Linked DNA regions of Homo sapiens: regions 1, 2 and 3 are each linked to region 4. Evidence: promoter capture Hi-C in 16 types of primary human blood cells and fetal thymus (Javierre and others, 2016). All regions are on one chromosome and are shown on one strand. The core of a region is centred on a gene start or on the middle of the fragment in contact, and the rest is flanking DNA. Distances in the headings are between cores, read along the strand shown.

Evidence for each region. Contacts are between HindIII fragments. The CHiCAGO score rates a contact against its expected background, and 5 or more counts as called.
Region 1: a contact is called between a fragment that was not itself captured here and the fragment with the promoter of ASPRV1 in region 4, in 8 of 17 cell types (total CD8 T cells, activated CD4 T cells, naive CD8 T cells and 5 more). The highest score is 7.5, in total CD8 T cells.
Region 2: a contact is called between a fragment that was not itself captured here and the fragment with the promoter of ASPRV1 in region 4, in 1 of 17 cell types (neutrophils). The highest score is 6.0, in neutrophils.
Region 3: a fragment that was not itself captured here is called in contact with the fragment with the promoter of ASPRV1 in region 4 in 1 of 17 cell types (neutrophils); the score reaches 5.0 in neutrophils.

Annotation. Positions count from the first base shown.
Region 1 is chr2:70,231,042-70,234,273 of GRCh38, reverse strand. The region is part of intron 2 of TIA1 (TIA1 cytotoxic granule associated RNA binding protein); the gene reads left to right. Among named protein-coding and RNA genes, the nearest start is that of TIA1, 16 kb to the left of the region's middle. The HindIII fragment of the contact is 3,093 bases long and covers 295-3,232 here.
Region 2 is chr2:70,270,968-70,274,580 of GRCh38, reverse strand. All of the region lies in intron 3 of PCYOX1 (prenylcysteine oxidase 1), which reads right to left. Among named protein-coding and RNA genes, the nearest start is that of PCYOX1, 15 kb to the right of the region's middle. The HindIII fragment of the contact is 5,117 bases long and covers 1-3,613 here.
Region 3 is chr2:70,253,048-70,256,742 of GRCh38, reverse strand. It overlaps the pseudogene RPL39P15. Among named protein-coding and RNA genes, the nearest start is that of MIR1285-2, 1.9 kb to the right of the region's middle. The HindIII fragment of the contact is 2,291 bases long and covers 357-2,647 here.
Region 4 is chr2:69,960,363-69,963,956 of GRCh38, reverse strand. ASPRV1 (aspartic peptidase retroviral like 1) reads left to right here and starts at 2,326. Exons shown (of 1, transcript NM_152792.4): 1 at 2,326-3,594. The coding sequence starts at 2,521. The coding sequence ends at 3,300. PCBP1-AS1 (PCBP1 antisense RNA 1) reads left to right here. Exons shown (of 11, transcript NR_033872.1): 11 at 457-1,694. RefSeq lists a silencer at 2,146-2,440. The HindIII fragment of the contact is 12,271 bases long and covers 1-3,594 here.

The sequences.
Region 1 (3,232 bases), core at 592-3,091, 270 kb before region 4:
CTGTCAGTTACTTTAATACATTGTCATAAATGCTCAATAGAAACATAAAGAAGGTGTTATTTTCATTTCATGTATGAGGAAATGAGGCAAAGCAAGGCTGTAAACCCTAATTGATTTATCCGAATATAAATCTTCTCTGTTGGTTTGCCTGCTGCTACTCTCTCTCTGGCTGGTCATATGTTTCCCTGGGGAAAGATCATTAGACAAAACGTTAATGATTGCCTTGGCTACAGAAAAAACCAGGTTAGCCTTTGCCACTTTTTATCATTTGTGGATTCTGATCGCTCAAAAGCTTAGATTTTTATTATTCAAATCTAAATTCCAGTCTGTTCACATTCTGAGACTAATGTTCACATTTATAAATTTTATGCTCCCTGGACTGATAATATGTATATATGCTTCGATTCTTATTTAAAAAGTTAGTTTTTTCTGCATATAAATTAAGTAAAGCATATTCTTTTTCATTTATTTACTCTTAAATGCAAGTGACTTTTTCTTTTTTTTTTTTTAGACAGAGTCTCACTCTGTTGCCCAGGCTGGAGTGCAATGGCATGATCTCAGCTCACTGCAAACTCTGCCTCCCAGGTTCAAGCTATTCTCCTGCCTCAGCCTCCTAAGTAGCTGGGATTACAGGCATGCGCCACCACACCTGGCTAGTTTTCGTATTTTCAGTAGAGACAGGGTTTCACCATGTTGGCCAGGTGGTCTTGATCTCCTGATGTCATGATCCGCCCACCCCAGCTTCCCAAAGTGCTGGGATTACAGGCGTGAGCCACCACAGCCAGCCGCAAGTGACTTTTTCTAACTTCATTTCAGTGTTGCCTGTCAGCATTGATCTTGGTAATAGAATTCCCATTGTGTTTTATTAGTTTGAGTTATATAACATTTTTATTCTCTAATTTTTTTAGACAAAATATAGTCCCAATATATTAAACTTTGTCTTGGCCTCGTTGCTTTAAAATTTTTACAAGTCATTGCCAGTGACTCTCAAACTATTAATTGTTGATGTGCACAGTGACTGATGCCTGTAATCCCAACACTTTGGGAGGCAGAGGCTGGAGGATCACTTGAGCCCAGGAATTTGAGACCAGCCTGGGCAACATAACAAGACCACATCTCTAAAAAAAAATTAATTAACTGTACTTGAAATAAAATTGTATATTCCTCTATTTTAGTAGCTTTCTAGTCTTTTGAATTAGTTTTTTATTTTAACAAATCTGTTTAGGAGGCTATGGAAAGAATTTTAAAATGGCCTATAATGTCATTTGATATTTTGCACTGTAGGTGTAAAAATTGGAATTTTTTTCTGCTACTTGAATTTATAATTAAACATCCAGGTTCTATTTATCACATAGCCTCACCTACCTGGAACACCAGCAGAAAAGGGAAGTTTTGTTTTTTTTTTTGAGACAGAGTCTCGCTGTGCGCCCAGACTGGAATCCAGTGGCACCATCTTGGCTCACTGCAACGTCCCCCTCCTGAGTTCAAGCGAATCTCCTGCCTCAGCCTCCCGAGTAGATGGGATTACAAGCACACGCCACCACACCCAGCTGATTTTTGTATTTTTAGTAGAGATGAGGTTTCACCATTTTGGCCAGGCTAGTCTCGAACTCCTGACCTCAGGTGATCCACCTGCCTCATCCTCCCAGAGTGCTGAGATTACAGGCATGAGCTACTGTGCCCGGCCAAGGGAAGATAATTTTTTTTTTTTTTTTTTTTTTTTTTTTTTTTTTGAGACAGAGTTTCACTCTTGTTGCCCAGGCTGGAGTGCAATGGCGCAATCTCGGCTCACCACAACCTTCGCCTCCAGGGTTCAAGCGATTCTCCTGCCTCAGCCTCCCGAGTAGCTGGGATTACAGGCATGCACCACCACGCCCGGCTAATTTTGTATTTTTAGTAGAGACAGGGTTTCACCATGTTGGTCAGGCTGGTCTCAAACTCCTGACCTCAGGTGATCAGCCCACCTTGGCCTCCCAAAGTGCTGGGATTACAGGTGTGAGCCATCATGCCTGGCTGGGAAGATAATTTTTTTTCTTTTTTCTTTTTTCTTTTTTTTTTTTTTTTTGAGACAGAGTCTCGCTCTGTCGCCCAGGCTGGAGTGCAGTGGTGCAATCTCGGCTCACTGCACACTGCAAGCTCCGTCTCCTGGGTTCACGCCATTCTCCTGCCTTAGCCTCCTGAGTAGCTGGGACTACAGGCGCCCGCCACCAGGCCCGGCTAATTTTTTGTATTTTTAGTAGAGACGGGGTTTCACCGTGCTAGCCAGGATGGTGTCGATCTCCTGACCTCATGATCCGCCTGCCTCGGCCTCTCGAAGTGCTGGGATTACAGGCATGAGCCACTGCGCCTGGCGGGAAGATAATTTTTTAAAGGCTTCTGAGCAAGCAAAAAATTGATGTCAGAAAGTTCACATTCTAAAACTTATTCTAAAATTTTACTTACCAGAGAATCTCTTCAGTTTTCAGAGCCTATTTACCTATATTTTAAAACAGGTTTAAGAAGGTTGGCTAAGATTTTCTGCTACTCAGCAAGCTAGTAGCAGCAAGGAGCAATGTACATTTGTAGCAGTAAAAAGTAACTTATAACAGGGAGGGGATAGAAAAATCATAAAAAGCCGAAGTGAGACTTCAGAACTTAGGAGTTCAGTCAAACTTAATCTGTGTAGCTTGAACAAATGGTTATATGATGATGGGGTATGTGTAGCTATATATCCAGTTAGGATACCTAGTCATTAATATTAAATTATAGTACTATAGTATAACCTGTTGAAGAAAATAGCTATGTATAAAAGCAGTGTGATTTTAAGTGTTTGCTTTTTTTTTTTTACTTTTTAATTATTTTAGAGACAGGATCTTGCTGTGTTGCCCAGGCTGGATTCAAACTCCTGGGCTCAAGCATTCCTCCCACCTCAGCCTCCTAAAGTAGCTGGGACTACAGGAGCTGGCTGTTTACTTTTTTGTTTGTTTGTTTTTGAGACGGAGTCTTGCTCTGTCGCCCAGGCTGGAGTGCAGTGGCGCAGTCTCAGCTTACTGCAACCTCCACCTCCCGGGTTCAAGCAATTCTCCTGCCTCAGCCTCCCGAGTAGGTGGGATTACAGGAGCCTGCCACCATGCCTGGTTAATTTTTGTATTTTTTTTTAATAGAGACAGGGTTTCACCACGTTGGCCAAGTTGGTCTCAAACTGCTGACCTCATGATCCACCTGCCTTGGCCTCCCAAAGTGCTGGGATTAC
Region 2 (3,613 bases), core at 221-2,720, 310 kb before region 4:
AAAAAAAAAAAAGAAAAAAAAAAAGAAAAGAAACTAAGGAAGAAAGAAAGAAGAAGAAAAAGGAAAAATAAAAAGTAGAAGTAAGGCCAGGCGCGGTGGTTTCATGCCTGTAATCCTAGCTCTTTGGAAGGCCAAGGCAGGCAGATCACTAGGTCAGGAGTTTGAGACCAGCCTGACCAACATGGTGAAACCCCGTCTCTACTAAAAATACAAAAATTAGCTGGGCCTGGTGGCGCACGCCTGTAATCCCAGCTATTCAGGAGGCTGAGGCAGGAGAATCGCTTCAACCCAGAAAGCGGAGGTTGCAGTGAGCCGAGATCACACCGCTGCACTCCAGCCTGGGCAACAGAGCGAGACTCCATCTCAAAAAAAAAAAAAAAAAAAAGTAGAAGTAAAATACTTTGTCTAAAGGCCACATGGCAAGTATAAGGCTCAATCACAACTTGCCCACTCTGCTGTCAATCACCCACACATGCACAGTCTCCACTGGAGCACACCTGACCCATTCACTGGTCTCTAAATTTGCCCTACATGCTGTATCCCCACCAGTGCACAAGCTCTTCCCTCCAACCTGAATACACTTCCCATTCCTAACCATGGAACATCTATTCTTCCTTAACAGAACTTGAATCCCACCTTCTCTGAAAAGTCTTGCTCAACTTCCCAGTCCACAGTTATATCATCTCCAGAAGCCTCATAAAACTTAGCACCAATGCCACTCATTCAACAATTAGATGCTTTCTATTATTTTTTAGAAAACATCACTTGACCAAAAAGAAAAATATCACCCAACACTTCTCTGCATTTTATGGATTTAAAACAACATTCACATAAATTAGTGCATTCAGTAATTCAAACACAATTTTTCATGTTGCAAATAGTACAAAGATGGAAAACAGGCTTAAGTTTGGGATAAGTAATACGGGGTTTATCTCTTATTCCCTTAAGGGGCTTATAGTTAGGGATAAGTAATAAGGCACATGCAGAGATAAGTATATGAAAATAAGAAATTAAGAGCCAAGGAAAGATCCCTATCACTGATCATGGAAGGGAAACTTTCACATCAAGTTTTTCTCTCAAAATGTACTATATTTTTTTACAGAACAAGGGACAGTATTATAACCATTTCAGTATTACCTACTAAAAGCATAGTAGTAGTATAAGTGTACAAAATGTTAAACACATTTTTATTGGAAAAACTGATTCGATATCTATGCCAAAACTGAGAAACTAAATACCTTCTAACCATAGCATTTGGGTCCCAGTCTTTAGGAGACTGGAAAAAGTAGGATGGAAACACTGAATTCTTCAGAAAAATAATAGCCTGGATATCTCATATCCAAAGAAGAGTGATCTTTGGCTAATGGTCAACATGAGAAAATAACAGTCAATTAAATAAGCTACTAATGATGCTATAAAAAACATATTCCCCAACTGCTCCTGCCAGAGCTGCAACCTCACTCAAGCAAGTCTCCCTGGGAGGGGGCGGGGTGGCAGCGGTGAGATGAAACTATATACACAATATAAACAGAGAGCACTCTAATTGTTTCATGATACAACTAATCGTATTAGAATAAATACACTGCTGGGTATGGTGGCTCATGCCTGTAATCCTAGCACTTTGGGAGGCAAAGTGGGGCAGCATCACTTGAGGTCAGTAGTTTGAGACCGCCTGGCCAACATGGTGAAACCCCATCTCTACTAAAAATACAAAAATTATCCAGGTGTGGTGGTGCATGCCTGTAATCCCAGCTACTCAGGTGGCTGAGGCATGAGAATTGCTTGACCCAGGAGACAGAGGTTGCAGTAAGTCAAGATCACACCACTGCACTACACCCTGGATGACAGAGCAAGACTCCATCTCAAAAAAATAATAATAATAAATGAAAAAACAGAATAAATACTACTAAAAAACAGCACCCAGGTGAGGCAGCATGCACCTGTAGTCACAGCTACTCAAGAGGCTGAGGTGGGAGGATCACTTAAGCCCAGGGGCACAAGGCTGTAGTACATTATGGTTGCACCTGTGAACAGCCAGCCAATATACTCCAGCCTGGGTGACAGAGTAAGACAGGAGGATACCTTGAGGCCAGGAGTTCAAGACTAGCCTGGGCAACATAGCAAGACTCTGTCTGTACACAAAATGTAAAAATTAGCCAGGCGCAGTGGTTCATGCCTGTAATCCCAGCACTTTGGGAGGCTGAGGCGGGCAGATCGCTTGAGGTCAGGAGTTTGAGACCAGCCTGGCCAACATAGCGAAACCCCACCTCTACTAAAAATACAAAAATTAACTGGGCATGGTGGCGCATGCCTGTAATACCAGCTACTTGGGAGGTGGAGGCAGGAGAATCGCTTGAACCTGGGAGGTAGAGGTTGCAGTGAGCCGAGATCGTGCCACTGCACTCTAGCCTTGGTGACAGAGTGAAACTCCCTCTCAAAAAAAAAAAAAAAAAAATTAAAAATTAGCCAGGCTCCTATATAATAGATTGATCATGCACCATATCCACAGGAGGTTGGAAAAACCATGCCATTTTCTGGAATTTAAGGGTGTTGCATTATTTCATCAATCATTTGTTGACAAAAAAGAAAAACTAAAAAATAAATTTAAAATGTGAACCTTCAGGTATTGAGTAACACCTTTATCTTGGTATAGAACTGATACTTTTTTTTTATTTTGAAATATCTGATAATAATTTGGAATGAAGTAAGGTTCTGTTAAAGAAAATATATTTGAAGACCCTTTAAAGCAGTGAATCTGAAACAATTTTCACACCCTTAAGTGGTTGATACGTACCTATTTTTAGGTATTTTGAGGTATTTACCATAAACTAAATTTAGAAATTTTTTAGATTCACTTGAAGTAAACATTACAAACATTGGATACGGTGGGGTTTTCTTTAGATTTTACTTGAGAGAAGGTGAGTACAAAGCAATTTGCAGTTGTTGTAATGACAAGATTACTGCGCAAGTGTGAATCCAAACAGTATAGCTTTTAAATTTTAAAGCATTTGGTAAATTATCGCTGAGTTTTTTTCTGTTGCCAATAGCAAACTGCTTTTCCATTAATGGAGAATTCACGCCTTTCAAGCATTTTAAATATGACAATATTTATAAATGTATGGTTTGGAGGAATCGTTTAAATTCTCTTTCCTAATTTTCTTTCTTTTGAAGATAGATTCTTTCAACAAGTAATTTGTAGTAATGACTGTGTTGACTTCAATTTTGGAGCGCAGTAGCTATGTTAAAGATGAACTATTTGGTCTCATTGAAGCCAACACAGAACTTGCTGCTGTGTTTTTTCTTCAGTGATAAATAAAATACTTACAGAAAAAAAAAAAAAAAAAAATTAGCCAGGCATGGTGAGGCATGCCTGTAGTCCCAGCTATTCAGGAAGCTGAGGCATGAGGATCACTTCAGCCCCGCTGGTTGAGGCTGCAGTGAGCTGTGATCACACCACTGCACTCCATCCAGCTTGGGCAACAGAGTGAGACCTTGTCTTAAAAAAAACAAAAACAAAAACAAAAAAATAATAATTTTTAAAAAAATATAACTGGGGCCAGGCACAGTGGCTCACGCCTGTAATCCCAGCACTTTGGGAGGCCAAGACAGGTGG
Region 3 (3,695 bases), core at 253-2,752, 290 kb before region 4:
CCTCACAAAGTGCTGGGATTACAGGTGTGAGCCACCGCGCCTGGCCATGAACACCTACCTTAAACATTACTTAATTTAGGCTAACTACAATGAGCCTCGCTACTTATATTTTTATCATGCATCTTACATTTTAATGTCCTTACTCTTTTATAGAAAAGGTCATAAAGAATGCCCAACTAATAAAGAATCTCTAATATCTCTGATACAGCAACAACTGATCACATACTTTCACATGTGAATACAATAGAAATAAAGTAACAGCATAAAGTAATTTGAAAGCTGTATTATATTATTATTCACTTTTCAAAAAATTGTTTTCAAGGAAACAAATATACTTTCAATGTAATTACAAAGCTTCAAAAAAACTCCTTTTAAAGTTATATACAAATAATTTAACAACTTTAATTGTGAATTCATTTTTATACTCAACACTCCTATTTAGTGTAATGTCTGAAGTAAAGCAGGACATAAATTTTAAAAGGCAAAGGTATCCCTCTTCCCACACTGCCTGGAAGGACAAAGGTTAATCACTAAAGACAATTTTACGCCTGTTAAATAAAATTCATAGGAAGCCATTGGTTTGGACTGAGCTCCTGCACTAGACTAGGCCCAACAGACTAAACCAAAATGGAGTCACTCAAGTCACTCATGTTCCACATCACAAGGTCAAAACTAAGTTGTCGATCTGACTTTCTAAGAAATCAGGAGAAAGAAAAATAATAGCCAAATTCCCGACAGACCAGTTTGAAGTGACATGATAAGGAAATACCCTCTGCTTTAAACTTTTCAAGGAAAGTAACCTCGAAACAACCAATGCACTTTTCTGTTTCTGCTTTCTTCAGCCCTTTCTGAAAGCCAACCTCCTCCACTCAACTCATAGGAACACTCATTCGATTTTATAAAATGAGGTGTTGCACAATTCTACAATCGCAACTAAAAGCCAATTATGCTCTTTAAACTAAATTAGTTGTAATTTTGTCTTTTGACAAACCTTTATCAGCCAGGAATCTACATGACAAACTTCATTAATGAGCCTTTTTCTATCGCGTATTTGCCTTCCCATAATTTGCCACCCCTAGAGACTCAAAATCATTTTCCTTCTCTTAACACTTCTCTTTTTTTTTCTTTCTTTCTTTTTTTTTTTTTTTTTGAGACGAAGTTTCGCTCTTGTTGCCCAGGCTGGAGTGCAATGGCGCAGTCTCACGGCAACGTCCGCCTCTCGGGTTCAAGCAATTCTCCTGCCTCAGCCTCCTGAGTAGCTGGGATTATAGGGAAGCGCCACCACACCCAGCTAATTTTGTATTTTTAGTAGAGATGGGGTTTCTCCGTGTTGGTTAGGCTGGTCTCGAACTCCCGACCTCAGGTGATCCGCCCACCTCGGCCTCCCAAAGTGCTGGAATTACAGGCGTGAGTCACTGTGCCCGGTTCTCTTAACACTTCTCTAAACATATACTGTTCTTTTTTGAAGATGCTGTATAATCCTGAATTCAAAGCTACCTCTTGGAGATTTGCTCATTTCCCTGGTCTCTCTTTTGAATACGTGACGTACATGTTTTTAAATTTCTGTTTTTCTTTTTTTCTTTCTTTCTTTTATTTATTTTGAGATGGCTTCGCTCTGTCACCCAGGCTGAAGTGCAATGGCACTATCACGGCTCACTGCAACCTCTCGCTCCTGGGCTCAAGCGATCCACCCACCTCAGCCACCAGAGTAGAGTACCTGGGACCACAGGCATCCACTACCATGCCCAGCTAATTTTTACATTTTTTGTAGAGATGGTTTTTTGCCATATTGCCCAGGCTGGTCTGGAACTCCTGGGCTCCCAAAGTGTTGGGATTACAGGCATGAGCCACCATGCCTGGTCCTGTTTGTTTTCTTCTTGTTAATCTGTCTTTTGTTACAGGGGTCTATCACAACCAAAACCTCGGAAGGGTAGAGGAAAACTCTTTTTTTCTCCCCAACATACCATACAATAGAACATTATGCATGCATTAAAAGGAAGCCAGGCACGGTGGCTCACGCCTGTAATCCCAGCACTCTGGGAGACCAAGGCAGGCAGAATATCTGAGGTCAGGAGTTCAAGACCAGCCTGGCCAACGTGGCAAAACTCTGCCTCTACTAAGAATACAAAAATTAGCTGGGCGTGGTGATGCATGCCTGTAATCCCACCTACTTGGGAGGTTGAGGCAGGAGAATCACTTGAACTTGGGAGGCCAAGGTTGCAGTGAGCTGAGATTGCACCACTGCACTCCAACCTGACAGGCTGATCTCAAAAAAAAAAAAAATTACAAAAAAAGAATGTTGGAGCTTGGCGCAGTGGCTCACACCTGTAATCCCAGCACTTTGGGAGGCTGAAGCAGGCAGATCACCTGAGGTCAGGAATTTGAGACCAGGCTGGTCAACATGGTGAAACCCTGTCTCTACTACTAAAAATATAAAAATCAGCCAGGCGTGGTAGCGCACACCTGTAATCCCAGCTACTCAGGAACGCTGAGACAGGACAATTGCTTGAACCCAGGAGGCAGAGGCTGCAGTGAGCCAAGATTACGCCACTGCACTCCAACCTGGGCGACAGAGTGAGACTCCGTCTCAAAAAAAAAAAAAATGGGTCTATAACTAATGTCCTAGTATTATCAGTTGAGAAAAGCTTGTGGTTGCATGATGGGTATAAAATGATCTCATGCCTCTTTTCCTTTCTCTGCCATCGTGGTGTGTTCTTGACTCCACCCTCACCATGTCTTCTCACAAGACTTTCAGGATTAAGTGATTCCTGCCCAAGAAACAAAAGCAAAATCGTCCCATTCCCCAGTGGATTCGGATGAAAACTGGAAATAAAATCAGGTACAACTCCAAAAGGAGACATTGGAGAAGAACCAAGCTGGGTCTATAAGGAATTGTACATGAGATGGCACACATATTTATGCTGTCTGAAGGTCACGATCACGTTACCATATCAAGCTGAAAATGTCACCCCTATCTGGAGAGTTCGACGTGTTTTCCTCTCCGAATCTGTTATGAACGCATTGGTTGGCTGGGTTCAGTAATAAATATGTGAGGCCTTTCATTTAAAAAAAAAAAGTCTCATTTCTGTAATTACAATACTTCACCCAAACAAACAAACAAAAATAACTAGTACATGAACATGAAGAACAATATAGATGAGAAGAAAATAGGTTGGATACAAAATAAAGTTAAACTTGGAGAAAGAGGCTGGGCTCAGTGGCTCACACCTGTAATCCCAGCACTTTGGGAGGCTAGGGCAGGCGGACGATTTGAGCCCAGGGTTCGAGACCAGCCTGAGCAAAATGGCGAAACCCCGTTTCTACGAAAAAATACAAAAAAATTAGCCTGGCATGGTGGTGTGCACCTGTAGTCCCAGCTACTCAGGAGGCTGAGGCAGGAGGATCACCTGAGCCTGGGAGGTAGAGGCTGAGGTGAGCAGTGATTGTGGTACTGCATTCCAGTCTGGGCACAGAGTGAGACTCTGCCCCCCAACCTCCAAAAAAAAAAAAAAAAAAAAAAAAGGTACATGTACCAGGATACAACTGCAACATTATTTGTAATACAATAGGTTTTTGAAAAGTAGTAACCTGAATATCCATCAATGCCAGTTATGGTAATTTATTCAATTTACCATTCAATACATTGGGGAACTTTCATTTTATGGACGATTTTGCAACTATTAAAAAACTATTAG
Region 4 (3,594 bases), core at 1,077-3,576:
TGAATATTTAACAAGCAGCTCTTTGTCCACTGCCCACCAGACCCCTGCCCCCGGCGCCTATGCTATACCTCTCTCAGCCCAGCGCTTCACCTCCCTGTCCTTGCAAAATCCCCTTCTCTGGCCGCTGGAAAGCCTGGGACCTGAGGCCATTGAAGCTCCTGTGCTCCAGGGTCCTGGAGCGGAGCTGGTCTTCTTCCCAGGTTGTTATACTCCTCATGGAGGTGATGTGTGTAAAATGCTTTGCCAATGTGAACACCAAACCCACTCAAATGAGGTCCCAAGGGACCACCGATTTCTAGTCTAAGGGCAGTAGGGAGATCGGAATTCAACATCTACCACTATGGTTTGAAAAGCCGGTTCAGGGCATTTGGCAGTCCCAGCTTGTCAGCTGACAAGCCACCTGCCTCGCTCCTCCCTTGGTCGCATGCTAACCTCCTCACTCATTTCCACTTCCAGGGGACCAGATGTGCAGAGGTAATGAATACCAGGGAATCAGGAAACCACTGGATCAGTTCTTTGAGCCACAGAACAACACTCATCCCAGCAGCTGGGAAGCTATCTGCAAAAGTCCATCTGCAGAAAGGGCTTCCTGGTCTTGCGTGTGGCTGGGCCATTTCTCTGGATGCAGGTTTTTCATTATACAGTCTTCTCAAAGAACCACCTGCTCTCAACACCTTCTCGGTGACTCCATTTCCCCTCCTCTGGGCTCCTGGAATGCCACAATGGCCCCACCTTAGCCAGGCAGCTGTGATGAGAGGTGTTGACCCAACTGCCTCTCTGCTGGCTCACTGAATCAGGTGGAAGGGGCTGGGGACAGCACAGTCTTGCATTGTGGTTGGGGACCTGGGCCATCCAGAGGCAGGACTGTCCAAAGGCAGGGTACTGCTGGGATTCCGCCAGGCACTGGGTGATGCATGGCATAGGGAGCTGAAGAGGGACAGGCTCTTGGCCAGGAAAAACAGCCCCAGAGCCACAGGTGTGCCATCGAGTCTTCCTCCTCTCCCATCCTTAATCACTCCTGTTTGGTGACAGCACACAGCTAGGCCTGGAGCCCAGCAAAGAGCCCCTGGGTCCCAGAGGAAGTTGTTCTGGGGGCTGGAGACAATCACAAATGCCAGGTTTGTGAGCCCCAGACTCTGGTTCATAGCAAGAGGCAGACTTGTGAACAAACCACCAGATCACACCGTAAAACACGCTCAACGAGGAGTGGGTGCCCTTTCTAGGGACAGGCAGAAGGCTCCATGGAGTGACCTTTGAATGGGGACATAAAAGTGGATCCCTTCAACAGCCCCTGCACAGCCCCAAGTCAGGCCTCCAGCCCTTGGACTCACAGATGTCCTCTGTAGACGACTGGATGTCCTCCCGTGCTACCCTTTACCCCTGCAGCGAGGGGCACAGAGCCAGAGCCCTCCAGGTCCTCACCACTGGCATCACCAACATAGTGGACATTTTCCCTCTCAGAATGAAAAGGGAGTGAAATTTCCCGTGATCTTTCCACAAATGACCAGCTTGGGGAGTGGGAGAGGAAGTGCTGCAGTGCCTGGGGAAGGGGCCCTGGAACAGTTCCTGGAAATGGAGAGGGGTGGATAGGGTGGAGACAATGCTCATGGAGTGCAGTATGGGGCCTACCCAGAGTTGCTTGGCCACCCCTCTGCCTCTGAATCAGGGGTGATCAATGAAGGAAAATTACTGCAGCAGTTGAGTCCATGTAAGATGATTGTGCACGTGTGTGTGTGTGTGTGTGTGTGTGTGTGTGTCCTCACTCACTTAAAAAAGACCATTTCTGTGCATTCTTTATGCTGGAACCCTCCTCTGCCTCCCTCTCCAGGAAATCCCATAGGATCCCATACCTGCTTTAGAATGTGTGTGAGACACTTCCCAGTGCCTGGCATGTGGTAGGAGCTCAGTACATGTAAACTGTTTTCCTTTGACCACTCAAAGTAGTCACTTGTTGGGGAGGCCAATGGCGGCTTCCCCGGTCTCTGAGCTGATGGGCGTCTGGTCCCTGCCTCCCCTTCCTTCACTGGCTGATGACAAATACCTGAATGTCATCACATCCTCCGTGTCCTCATCTGTTATTCTGGAACACAGGCCAGGGAGGGTACAGGGTAGTCCCCCTTCAACAGAGGCTGGCCTTTCTTGGGATGTGGGCTGGCTGGTGTTGGTCCAAGGATGGATGCAGAGGGTGAGGCACCCATCCTGCTAGTCCGGCCGGATGCTGGCAGGAGGGCGGGGTGAGGAGGGGCGGAGCTTCCAGAACAAAGGAGAATGGGGAGCCCAGGGGCCAGCCTAGGCATCAAAAAGGCTCTGCAGAGTGAACAGGCCACAGCACTGCCTGCCTCTGCCCCAGCAGTCAGCCAGCCGACCGCGCCTGCTCCCTCCTGCTTGCCCAAGGCCGGGCAAGTCATCCCCACTCTGCTTCGAGAGGCCCCGTTTTCCAGCGTGATTGCGCCGACACTGCTCTGTGGGTTTCTCTTCTTGGCGTGGGTTGCTGCTGAGGTTCCAGAGGAGAGCAGCAGGATGGCCGGGAGCGGAGCCAGGAGTGAGGAAGGCCGCCGGCAGCATGCCTTCGTCCCGGAACCTTTTGATGGGGCCAATGTCGTCCCAAACCTCTGGCTGCACAGCTTTGAAGTCATCAATGACCTCAACCATTGGGACCATATCACCAAGCTAAGGTTCCTGAAAGAGTCCCTCAGAGGAGAGGCCCTGGGTGTCTACAATAGGCTCAGTCCCCAGGACCAGGGAGACTATGGGACTGTGAAAGAGGCCCTCCTGAAGGCCTTTGGGGTCCCTGGGGCTGCCCCCAGCCACCTGCCCAAAGAGATCGTCTTTGCCAACAGCATGGGTAAGGGCTACTATCTCAAGGGGAAGATTGGCAAAGTGCCCGTGAGGTTCCTGGTGGACTCTGGGGCCCAGGTCTCTGTGGTCCACCCAAACTTGTGGGAGGAGGTCACTGATGGCGATCTGGACACCCTGCAGCCCTTTGAGAATGTGGTAAAGGTGGCCAATGGTGCTGAAATGAAGATCCTGGGTGTCTGGGATACAGCGGTGTCCCTAGGCAAGCTGAAGCTGAAGGCACAGTTCCTAGTGGCCAATGCGAGTGCCGAGGAAGCCATCATTGGCACTGATGTGCTCCAGGACCACAATGCTATCCTGGACTTTGAGCACCGCACATGCACCCTGAAAGGGAAGAAGTTTCGCCTTCTGCCTGTGGGAGGGTCCCTGGAAGATGAGTTTGACCTGGAGCTCATAGAGGAGGACCCCTCCTCAGAAGAAGGGCGGCAGGAGCTATCCCACTGAGAAGCCACCTTTTCTTTAACCTCCTAAATATTGGTGGGAAGACCCACCGCTGTGGGGGGGGTTGCATATCCTCATGGGGGTCACTGGGCTTGGCCAGTCTGCTTATCAACTCTTGCTCTTCTCTCCCCTTTGCCTCCCTCTGCAGGGGCCTTAATCTGCCCCTGGTAGGGGAGGCTTCCACTGAACAGGCACAGGTGAGGGAGAGCAGGCTGGCTTAGAGGGACAGGGTCCCCATGGTCATCAAGCTGCTGTTGATGACAAAGACTCAAAGGCTGGAAGAGCTCCCAAGGAAGC